Regions from separate parts of the Homo sapiens genome. Here region 1 is linked to region 2. Evidence: promoter capture Hi-C in human tissues and cell types (Jung and others, 2019). All regions are on one chromosome and are shown on one strand. Each heading gives the region's core, a stretch centred on a gene start or on the middle of the fragment in contact. The rest is flanking DNA. Distances are from core to core; before and after follow the strand shown.

Region 1 (5,880 bases), core at 803-3,302, 50 kb after region 2:
GAAACAATAAATGCTGCCGAGGCTGTGGAGAAATAGGAATGCTTTTACACTGTCGGTGGGAATGTAATTTAGTTCAACCATTATGGAAGACAGTATGGTGATTCCTCAAGGATCTAGAACCAGAAATATCATTTGACTCTGCAATACCATTACTGGGTATATACCCAAAAGAATATAAATTATTCTACTATAAAGACACATGCACACGTATGTTTATTGCAGCACTATTCACAATAGCAAAGTCATGAAACCAACCCAAATGCCCGTCAATGATAGACTGGATATAGAAAATGTGGTACATAACACAATGGAACACTACACAGCCATAAAAAGGAAGGAGATCATGTCCTTTGCAGGGACATGGATGAAGCTGGAAGCCAACATCCTCAGCAAACTAACACAGGAACAGGAAACTAAACACCACATGTTCTCACTCATAAGTGGGAGTAGAACAATGAGAATACGTGGACACAGAGAGGGGAACAACACACACCAGGCCTGTTGGGAGGGTGGGGAGTGAGGGGAGGAAACTTAGAGGACAGGTCAATAGGGGCAGCAAACTACCATGGCACACATATACCTGTGTAACAAACCCGCACGTTCTGTACATGCATCCCAGAACTTAAAGTAAAATAGTAATAAATAAATAAATAAATACAAAGTGTAACCAAAGTCTCATGTTCCATTATTCCACAGGAAATTTAACAATCATTGAAATATTAAATATCCAGTCTGGGTTCACATTTCCCTGATTATCTCATAATTTGTTTTTGACACATTTTGTTCATTTGAATCATCTTTTAGAGGTTTTATCAACTTTGTCAACCAGCCTCAACTTTTCCATTTATATCCACGACATTTTAGCAGCGTTTATAGATGGCGCACCAAGGCCTTGATTCAAGGAGATTTCCAAGAGCTCACGTCAGGGGTGCTTTTCCATTGGCTGCTCCGGTGGGGGCTACTTTGCATATCTTCAACTATGGGTGGGTTTCATCTGACTTCTTGCCTCTGCACTATATTCAGCAGAAATTCCTCCAAGTTGTTTTCATGTGGATAATGCTTTTCCCTATTTTGCAGCATTAATGCAGATATTTTCACTAGTTTTTCTGTGTGGGGGGAATAGCAGTTCTATGGACATTTGGAAGAGGAGTAGGAATAAAAACATGTGCTTAATCAGTCATCCTTAACTGAAACGATGTAGTCTTAACAGATTTACAGCACTCTTCATTTTACAACCACTTAAGTAAGTTTATAAAGTTAAAACAGACCAAAGAAGCATCCACCATTTAAAGGACTATTCAGCCCCCTAATTTTTAGATGCAATGAAAAATTCATTAATTAAGAAAATTATTTTCTTCTAAAATGATTTGTTGGACATCTGTCATATGCCAGGCTCTATGTTAAATGCCAGTTATAAAAAAGAATAGGCACAGTCCCTGTCCTCATGCTTCTTACAGCCTACACAGCAAGGGGGTTATACACATAGGAACAGCAGGATCCACAATGGCCATCACTGGGAGCAGAGGATTCTGGGAGCAGAAGTGATTCATTCCACCTGGGGTTCCTGTGCTGGGAAAGCTTCATGAAGGAGGAGATATGGTGGCGGGAGGGTAGATGAATGGACACTAAGAAGACGGTAAAGAATGTGCTTGGCAACTAATGGGTAACCTGGTGTTTCTGGATCATAAGGACTGAAAAGAAAGCCAATGTGAGATTATGAGAGTCTTTAATGTGAAGACTTGGGGCTTTATCTTCTCAGGCAGTAGAAATCCATAGACACTCCTAAAAATAGTATTGTGACATGATTAAAAGTTCAGTGAAATAAGAAACAGCAATCAAATGAATCATTCTTTAAGGATCAAGAAAAGACTATAGAAAAGACTATAATCAAACTTACTCCAAATCTAACCAAAATTTAAAAGTGTTCCAGATATGAGATAAACAGTATATAAACTTGGAAAATCCCTTTAAAAATTTTTAAGATAAAAAAAGGAAAGCAAAAATAATTTTCATTGCAGTTCAATCTTAAGCCCTAACTTATTTCGTACTTTTATAAAGAGAAGGACATATGGACCCCAGGTTCATAGTTTGATTACCAGCAGTACACCTGACCACACAAGCAGCCAGGACACAGACTTCTCAGTGTTGCTACCCTTTTTCTTCTGACTCAAAATTTGACTTTTCCTCCAGGCCAGTGAAAGCAAGCGCTTCTGCCACACACTTTCCACTATCTGTTTTTCTCTCCTGATACCTGAAATACAGGAAAGGAGCATGATTTCCTGATCTACCTTTGCACTCGTGATGGTATCTTACCTAATTCTTCTGAATTTTAATTTTCACCCCAGATGAGTGTTTATCTCTTTAACTTTATACATGCTACCCCACTCCCCCAAGTGCTAGAATGCTCCAGACTTTATTATTATTAGAACTTTTAAAGAATTTTGGACATACTGGTAATTATTTTCAGACACCAGGCCTTTTGCCAAAAATCTAGAATCAGTTTTGGACCAGTTTAGAATCTCCGGGTCTTTGTGAGTGATAGAGAACATCTCGGGGAACACTTTTCAGAGTCCCAGAATGCTCTTTTCCAGCGAAGACACCTCACAGCCACAGCTCTGTATGTCTGTATTAGCACTTTCCTCAGACACACCCTGGTCTCCATCAGCCTCTCTAATAGATCAGAGCACACGGCCTAAGGCCCTCTTGGTCTGCACTTATTAGCAAGTTACTTTAGGGCTTTGCAGACAGCAGAGGAATCTTTTGTTCATCTCTATCTATAGTTCTCCAACTGCTGACATTTTCTAAGGCCTTAGAATCACATATACCAGAATTGGAGGGAGCTCAGAGGCTACCTAAACCATAAATGCTCACGTTTTATTTTTGCATCAAAATCTTTCGTTCAAACATAGCAAAATGTTAAGCTCAAATTTTCATCTTACAAGGGAGATCATTGCTTGATATAAAACGAATAAAAGTATAACTCCTGAGGGTGCACAGGGCACCTCTGCTAAAAATCCTTGGGCTCTGCAGAGCATAGTTTGAAAACCAATGGTTAATTGAACTTTTTATGAAAGCGTAAGTCATGAAAATAATGTTCAGAGACATTAAGCCATTTGTCCGCAGGGACACCATTGGAAGAAAAGTCAGTATCCTAATTCCAGTCCTTTGATGGATCCCAAACCCCCAGGACTTTCCATGGGGTCATATATACTGCCCACTTATTTGCCAGTCTTGTCTCCAAAAGCTTCTCCTAAGGTAGAATTGAAGACATTCATTTTGATGACCCATTTACTTGGTGATTCACCTCTATTTTTTTTTCTATATACAATTCACAATTTTGCTCGTAAGGTACAAACTTGTGTTTTGGGCATCTTGTACCTAAAGCGATAAAGTCTGGACGAAGAGCACTGTTCCTCATTAAGATGTTAGACTTCTAGCTATATTGCTTTTGGTGAATTTTCTCCTCAAACCAGTTGACTGTTTTCATAAATGTTTCGCTCTGCCTGGCAAAACAACGGGTTGATCAGTTGGCTGTTTTTATGAATGTCTTGCCCTTTCTGGCAAGATTGATTTTTCATTTTGTTTTGTTCAAACATATCAAAATGTTACACTCAAATTAAAATCTTATAAGGGAGATCATTGCTCAATATAAAACAGATGAAAGTAGAACTCGAGAGGTTGGGTCTGGATAGTGTGATTGTATCGTTTGTCTTCCAAACGTGGACATTTTTGAAAGTAAACGGGGGTTCGATTAATTAGTAACCTGGGACAACAGGTGCAATCCTGGACTGTCCTGGACAAGCAGGACAGATCACCTGTTGTCCTGTTATAGTTTCCAGGTCACCTAAAGCTGGGATGAAGTTGACAACATTGCAGTTAATAAACCACAGGAGAAATTAGAGAAGAAATAACACTAAGAGTAATCAAAGACAGAAAATATGAGAAACTGGTGTGACTGACAGCTTTACAACCAGAATTGAAGCTTTGTGTGTGGTTGATTGGACCTTGAGCCCAGAGGAGTGGGTAGCCCAGGTGGGCAGAGAGTAGAAAGGAAGAGAAGAGAAGCTCCCAAAGGAGAACCAGTTAGAGGGCAGAAGTAGCCATAACAAGGGAATTTGGCTCCTGCATTCTCTTCAATTGTCTGTGCAGAATAGCATACGTGAGACATTCTAGCTGGAAAATCCCCAAATTCCAGAAACAATGGCCTTATGCAAATCGTAGGAGACATATCTGTATATGGCCTGACAAGGATGAACTCTGGAATGTTTTGATGGAAGAGAAGGAAGTTGGCATTGCCTCAGCAAATGACATCGGGGTTAGAAAGGACAGCTGCTCACATTCCTGGCTGGTGTTGCATCCATCAGAGCTGCTGAGTGCTGCCTATGTCTGCCTGTGGCCACATCAGCATCCCCAAACCAGGCTTGTAGGGGGCTCATCATTAAGAGGCTATTCTGTCCCTTGATTCAAATTTTATTTTGCAGAAAGGCAGCCATTTTGTATGGCTTGATATGTCACATTTACACAGTCCTCTCTGTTTCTCAAGAAAGAAAACCATATAACCTTTAAAAAGTAGAAATCTAGAGTCAAAAAGGCAAAGTTGGGTCGTGCTCTGGTTGAATGGCTCACGCCTGTAATCCCAGCACTTTGGGAAGCCGAGGTAGGCAGATCACCTGAGGTCAGGAGTTCGAGACCAGCCTGACCAACATGGAGAAACCCTGTCTCTGCTAAAAATACAAAATTAGCCGGGCGTGGTGGTGCATGCCTGTAATCCCAGCTACTCAGGAGGCTGAGGCAGGAGAATCACTTGAACCCAGGAGGCGGAGGTTGCAGTGAGCTGAGATTGTGCCATTGCACTCCAGCCTGGGCAACGAGGGCCAAACTCTGTCTCAAAAAAAAAAAAAAATTCACCCTGATATCTCTATATTTATGTGCTATTCACAACCATGGCTAGTGTCCATTGAATATTTTCTATGTGCTTTACAGGTTTATCTCAGGTGACACTTGTGACTGTAGGGTGGCCAACCATCCCGGTTTGCCTCGAACTGTTCTGCTTTTAGCACTGAAAGTCCCATTTCCAGGGAAAACCCTCAGTTCCCGTCAAACCACAACATTAGGCCACTCTACTTACAATATTCCAAAGAGGCTGGTTTATTTTCTTACCCATTTCACAGATCGGACTTTACAGATGACCTAACTGAACTTCAGACAAATTAAGTCAATTTTGTAATCCATGAGACTCCTAGAACATGAGGCAGCAGGATTTGAACCCAACTCTGCCTGACTTCAAAGCCAGTGCTCTCAACTATTACACTCTCACCTCTTTGTTCTCACTGATATAAAACCAGAGATATTAACACTAATGATGAACCGCATCCCACTAACAAGGCAACTTCCTGATCGCTAGTGAGAACTTAAATTATGTTTCCATATGTTATATAGCACGTGGAACATTAGAGTTGAAAGCATTCCTAGAAGGCATCTAGTTGGCGCTATTTAATTCATATTTGAGCCTCAGAAGGGTAGAAGGCATGACTCAATGTCACACAGCAAATGAATGACAAAACTGAGACTGTATTGCAAGTCTTCTGAATCTCAGTGCAGTGCTTGCTCTCTTTTCCATGAAGTCATATAATTTCTCAGTGCTCTCTTTTCCATGAAGTGATACAATTTCTAAGCTTTTCAACAAAGCATATTTGAAATTAGAAACTTAGCATGGACACTTTGCCAGTAACTGGGGGGGTTCTGAGTAAATTCAGCATTTCACAACATGGCATTTTATAACTGTGACAGATGACAGGGACTACAAAATTATACACTGATCTTTCTTTATTTTAAATTGGTGATTACCTATAAGGCTCATCCATCAAGGGCAGGCAGCCT
Region 2 (6,153 bases), core at 1,410-3,909:
GTCCTTAATCACGAGGTCACTCAAATACAGCTTATAGAAAGTTGGTCGGCCATGGTTGACATCGATGATGATTTCAGAGTAAAAGCAGTTATCTGCTCACCTATAAATAAACCCCGTCACAGTGGGTCTGTTGCTGTAATCAGAGAATGGTTCTGTTGCATTTATTTTTTGAAATATGTTTAATGGAATACATAATACCACGATCTACTATCAAAGCAAATATTCGCAGTGAGATAGAAACAGTTTTATGAGTTTACTGTTTGAGTTGCTTTTGAAAGAGAAGGAGGAGAAGAAGATGATGAAAGAGAAGGGAAAACAGTGAAAGAGAGAGAGAGAAATCAAAATAAAGTCAAGGCCCTTATTCACTGTTGGTGACAAAATAAAAGACATTCTCTTAAAGAGAGGCCCTCTTGTTAGCATGCTGCGACCTCAGTGCTGGCACAGCCATAGTAGTAATTACATCCAGAAAGAATAACCTCCATTCAAACATTACATTTTCTAAGTTTTACATTCCACTTGTTTTTTTTCTCTTGTCTGTCAAGAGACTATCAATGTTTGCATCTCAGACTCCAGATTCCCTGTTTATCAATGACGGGAGGATTAAGGATGCCTGCTTCTGCTGTGATATCATGTTTTCCCGAAGCTACCTTTCCTTATGACACAAAAGCCTGCACAACTTTAAAAAAAGTGAGGCTGGAATTCTCTGAAGCTCCAGGATCAGGGTCTTCAGGGTCTACTTAGGAGACACCAGGACTCCACAAATCCACTGAGATGGAAGTTGGGAGTGTGGCAAAAACTGACTTCCCTCTCCACTGCACTTTAGCTGAAGGAGGGATTGATAAGCGTTTTGCAAGTCTACTATCAAGTACATCACCAGATCCTTTTAGAGACAAACCAGCACCCCCAGACCCTCCACATTTAAACTGGCAAGGAAGCATTTGAAATGAATGCAGCCTCATAGAAAACAAATCTACATCCTCTCTTCTTCAGAAAGGTGGCAGTGTTGCCTTACAGTTTTGACCGAATACAACGCAGTGGTGAGGTCTCTAGCTGGTTAACAGATCAACCGCCTCACCTCACCATGGAAAGGAAAGGAAGGACTTAATCCACTGCCGACCCCAGTGGCTGGCGGACTCATCCCAGAGCTTCAGGGGCAGTGAGACTTGTGACCGCCTAAGCTCTTGAGTTTTCAACTTGCATCAACAATGAAGATCCTAAGAAAATCTCCAGTTGACTCCACAGGCATCTAAAAACCAAGGGCATCTAAGAAAGTCACAGATGAACCTTACCTCCCAGCATCTACATTTTTCCTTTTTGAACCATCCATCCCAAGTGAAACAACTGAGTTGGCCCCATGTAGAAGGGCTAAGGAAACTTTAGCTTAGCAACCTATGCCAGCATCTTTCTGACACCTGTTATGTCTAATGTTCACATCAGAGTTCTCCTAAAAGTCATCAATCTAAGTAGAAGTCCTACATTGTTGAGTGTGTTGTTAACCAGTTTTCTAAAACCAACATTATACACAGAGCTACTGAAAAATAACTTCAGAAGTCAAGTGTTGCTTTGTCTAAACGTGGAGACCCACACAGACACCTTCCATGGGCGCGTGTACAAGCCCTTCTGGAGAAGCGGTTAGAGCTCCCGTCTCTCCCTTCCACTCACCTCCACTCAGCGTCCTTTGAGAAGTTTCTCCATGTGCCACTAACACAGAAATTTTGGGGGAAATTCTCTATTTATAAATATCAGATGGTTTGGGAAAAAATATTTGTGGCACTGGGCTTTCTTTTTTTTTCTACAGTGATGTCATTTTAAATACTTGGTGTGCTCCAAATTTGCTATTTTTACTTCCCCCAAGTGACTTTTTTTGGGAAATACATTTGTTTGGATTAGCTACATTTTAAGTGACCCCTGTACCTAACACACAACATCAGGTTCATCTTCTCAGCGATTATAACCGATACTACGCAGCTTCCAAACTTGAAATCCCTTATTTGTTCATTTCCAAAGTTGCTCCCTCTGAATGTACCCCTCCAAAATTTCTATTCATAGATGCAGAGAAAATAAAATAAAAGGATTGGCCTTTTCACAGATGAACAACCACACTCGACCACCCAAAGCACTTACAACGGAAGACACGAAAGGCCCCCAAAGTCAAACAAAACTCTTCGCTTCCACAATGTGCTTTTGGGGAACAAAGTTGAGGTAGACCTGGCAGGCTTTGAAACATTTATTGGAAAGCAGTTCTAGAGTTGAGAATTGCAGAAGAGGAAAGTTTAAGAAGGAATGCTAAATGCCTTAGCCCTACCTGATCTGAACTTGCTCCTAATCAGCAAGGAATGCTCAGACCCCAGGAGTGTCATGTTGAGTCTCAGCAAGCCGCTGGTCCCTTGGCCAGGCGCCCCCTGTTCTCCACCAGCAACAGGCTCCCGGGAGCCCAGCTGACCGCAGCTAACAACCCAGAATTCATCCAACTCTCCGTGAGCTCCCCTGGGTAGGAGTACAGTGGCAGCCAGTGTCCCCAGAAAACTGGCGCCTCCCCCCTCGCCGTGCGGGGCTAATTAACTCTTAGCCGGCGGGACCCTCCTCCTCCTCGGAGGTTGGCCAGGAGCAGCGCGGCATCCCAGGCGTTCCTGTCTGATGTCATAGGCTGCCGGCGATTGCGGAGAATCGCCACCACGCCTTTATGAAGGTCCCAACTTTGCCATCTGATACCCTTTACTACTGACAGGCGCTCAGCCAATCAGGAGCGGCGAGCGGGGTCTGGGGACCCGGAGCCGCCGAAGCCGTCTCGGGAACCGGCTCTTAACTCTTTGCGGCGGGCCCCGCAGCCGCCGAGGCACAGAGGGCGGGAGCAGGGCCAGGGGTCGGGAATCTGGGAGAGGGGCGCGAGCTAAAGAGCGGATGCCCGGAGGAAAGAAGGAAGGGCTGCGACGCCGCGGGGCTTGCAGGTGGTTCGCGGGGCTGCGGCAGCCGCTGGGAGCTCCGAGGTCCTGGGGATGGGCGTGCGCAGCCGGGGCTTCCCCGGCCGGGCTTCTGCCGGCGAAAGGGAAGCGGCCGGGATCTCCCGCCAGCCGGCTGCAAAGGCTGCGCGAAAGGGCGTGCGCGCCCGCGGGACAGTTCACGCGGGGCAATTTGGAAATAAGCTGGACCCCTGAGAAGAAAAGCTTCCGACGGACCGAAGCCCACGCATTCCCCTCGGTTTGAGGGGCTCAGGGCACTGGCAGAGACGATTCTGTATCTCGCAGCTCCAATACTGGACTTAGATGCATTTCCACGGGGAAATGGAAAGGCTTTCATTTTCTAGGATATGCTTTTTGGGGGGACAAATGTGACACGGCGCATCTGGAGATCCAGCTGCGACACAACGCTCCCACCTCACAACCCCGAGGGAATGGGAAAAGATACCTGAGTTGGAGTGAAAAACCTACTGGGCTCTAAATAGGGAGGGGCTCTGGAGCAGGGGGCAAGTCAGAGCTCGGGCTGGGCTTAGCTTGGGAAGGCTCAAAAACTTTGCCTGCGAATGAGTCTCTCCTTAGGGGAAAATCCATTCCGTAACCGACCCAGAGTTATTTGTGCATCTGGCCGAGGTGTTATAGGCACATGGATCAATGAAATAAAACAAAGACCCATCTCTCAAGAAGCCCGTTAAATAGTTGGTGGCTCAGAACATAAAAACCACTCTGTATACGTATATAATTAGGGCTTATTTGCAACTTCATATGCACGTGGACCCCGGGTGTCGTCTATTACACACAAGCCTGCCTGCATACTACGAGTCCTTAAAAGATCAGTCGGTGACAGATGGAGACCCGAGGTGACAATAGCTCATGGGGACAACCTCTAATGTCCTGGTCCCGGCCTCTGCCCCATCCCCTGTTGCTGAAAACACATTAGAGGGGTTAGCCCTAGAGCTTACTCTCTGGATCTGAGCGGGGCGATTTTGTAAATAAGGTCTTCAGGGATAGACACCTTCTTGCTGATGTGTCAGAGACGAGGAAGAACAATCCATCCATGTTCCCTTTGGGGATCTAGTCCTGGCCTGGGCGCCTGTCTATAGGCTGATTTCGTGTGCAGGAGCATCTCAGCGATTACGTAACATCATTTTCCCATTCCTGCTATAACAAATTACCACGAATGTAGTGGCTTAAAACAGCACACATTAATTATCTTGCTGTTATGGAGGGCAGAAGTCCAAAGTGGGTCTCAGGGGGTCAAAATCAAGGTGTCAGCGGGGCTGCGTTAGTTTCTGGAGGCTCTAGGGGAAAATCGATTTCCTCACCTTTTCCAGCTTCTAGAGGCCGCCCGAGTACTTGGCTCATGGCCGCTTCCTCCATTTTTGAAGCCAGCAATCGTGGGTCAAGTTCCTATTGCATCTTACCGCTTTAATGCTCCCTTCCCCACCTTCTGCTTCCCTCTTCTACATTAACCTTACGGCAAAAATAAACTCTATCATAAAGTCAGTTTATTATCCTCCCTAATCTCATCCACTGCCTGGATTCCCTTTGCTGTATAATGTAACCTATTCACAGATTCCTGGGATTAGGACATGAACATGGGAGGAGAGGGCATGATTCCGCCTGAGATCTTTCTTTCTCTTCTACCTCTCCTGGTCTTCAGTCAACCCCCAGCCCCCTGGTCTTCAATGAGAAGAAGGAAAGTGGAGGGAGGTTTGGGAACGGGTGCACACAGGAGTCTGGAAGGGCTCTGACCGGCTTTGAGATGTGTGTGGCAGGGAGGTACTCTACAGGGAAGAGATTGGTGGGATAAGGAATATTGCAAAATTATCTGAGCAGAGAAAACTATTTTGAGCAACATTAAAAAAAGAAAAAAGAAAAAGCCAAACAGATTTTTATCCCGAAGGCTTTGGGGCTGAGAAGAGATACATGGCAACTTGGCAGAGAATTATTTTTTCAGTGCAAGTTGGGATGAAATTAGCTGAAGCCAGCATTGATTGTAGGGTCTGCATGACCTAGATGAGCTGGCCAGGAGTAAGTTGTTTTCTCTCTGCAGGCCTAGGGGGAGTGTGTGTGTGTGTGTGTGTGTGTGCGCGCGTGTGTGTATGTGTGGAGTGTGGTGTGTGTGTGTGTATGTGTGTTTGCAGGGAAGCAGTTTCTTTTTTTCAGTGAGTTTGGGAAATGCCAATAACCATAGCCCCCCTCAATTTTCCCATCACAGTGTGGAGCTACTGACATATATCCTGAAATTTATACCTCCTATGGCTTGGAATATCTATGGTTATAAATATGCTCATAAAGAAGTTCATCATTTCTCCTCTCTAGCCAAGCACTTTTGGTAAAACAAAAAAAATTTTTGAGAGGGGTGGAATTTGGAGAAGATGTTCTCAAGGAGAACAGAACTCCTAAGCTGCTAGGCTCGAAAAGCAGCAGGCTAATGCAGCAGCGGCATGCTGCCAGGCTCTGTCCTGCAATGTCACCCACCACCTTGGAGTATGTTTTCCTTGCCAGGCTACTCCATGACCTTCTTTTCCTGGGGCTTGGAGTAAGCCCGTGATGTGACACAAAGGCAAGACATGAGCCTCCAGTGTGAGAAAGATCTTCTTTCCATCAGGATAACCCTGTACTTTGGAGTGAATTATTGGAGTTCTCTGGGATACTCAACGTCTTATCTGTAAAATGGAGTTAGAAATATTTACTTCCAGGAAGAGTTGGGATATTTAAATGAAAGAATACATGTGGGGTGCCCAGAACAATTTTGGTGTGTTTTTTATTATTATTTTTTATTATTTTGAGACAGAGTCTCGCTCTGTTGCCCAGGCTGGAGTACAGTGGTGCGATCTGGGCTTACTGCAACCTTGCCTCCTGGGTTCAAGAGATTCTCCCTGCCTCAGCCTCCCGAGTAGCTGGGATTACAGATGCATGCCACTGCGCCCAGATGATTTTGTATTTTTAGTAGAGATAGGGCTTCCCCCTATCAAGACCAGCCAAGCTGGTCTTGAACTCCTGCGCTCAGGTGATCTGCCTGCCTTGGCCTCCCAAAGTGCTGGGATTACAGGTGTAAGCCACCGTGCCCGGCCCTGGTGTGTTTTGGACCCTTCTTTTTACTTCCCCTGCCCCAACCATCTCCAAACATTCATGAAGATTCCAAGCAATTCTGTCCCTTTCCCCTTCATTTTGGCTTTCTCTCCTTTGCTGT

Evidence for each region. Contacts are between HindIII fragments. The study calls those that stand out against the background at their distance.
Region 1: a fragment that was not itself captured here is called in contact with the fragment with the promoter of MYOCD in region 2 in 1 of the 25 tissues and cell types used here (heart right ventricle).

What each region holds. Positions count from the first base shown.
Region 1 is chr17:12,612,178-12,618,057 of GRCh38, reverse strand. All of the region lies in intron 3 of LINC00670 (long intergenic non-protein coding RNA 670), which reads right to left. Among named protein-coding and RNA genes, the nearest start is that of MYOCD, 51 kb to the left of the region's middle. The HindIII fragment of the contact is 3,123 bases long and covers 491-3,613 here.
Region 2 is chr17:12,662,396-12,668,548 of GRCh38, reverse strand. It overlaps MYOCD (myocardin), which reads right to left and starts at 2,659. Exons shown (of 14, transcript NM_001146312.3): 1 at 2,306-2,659. The coding sequence starts at 2,360. The HindIII fragment of the contact is 11,548 bases long and covers 1-6,153 here.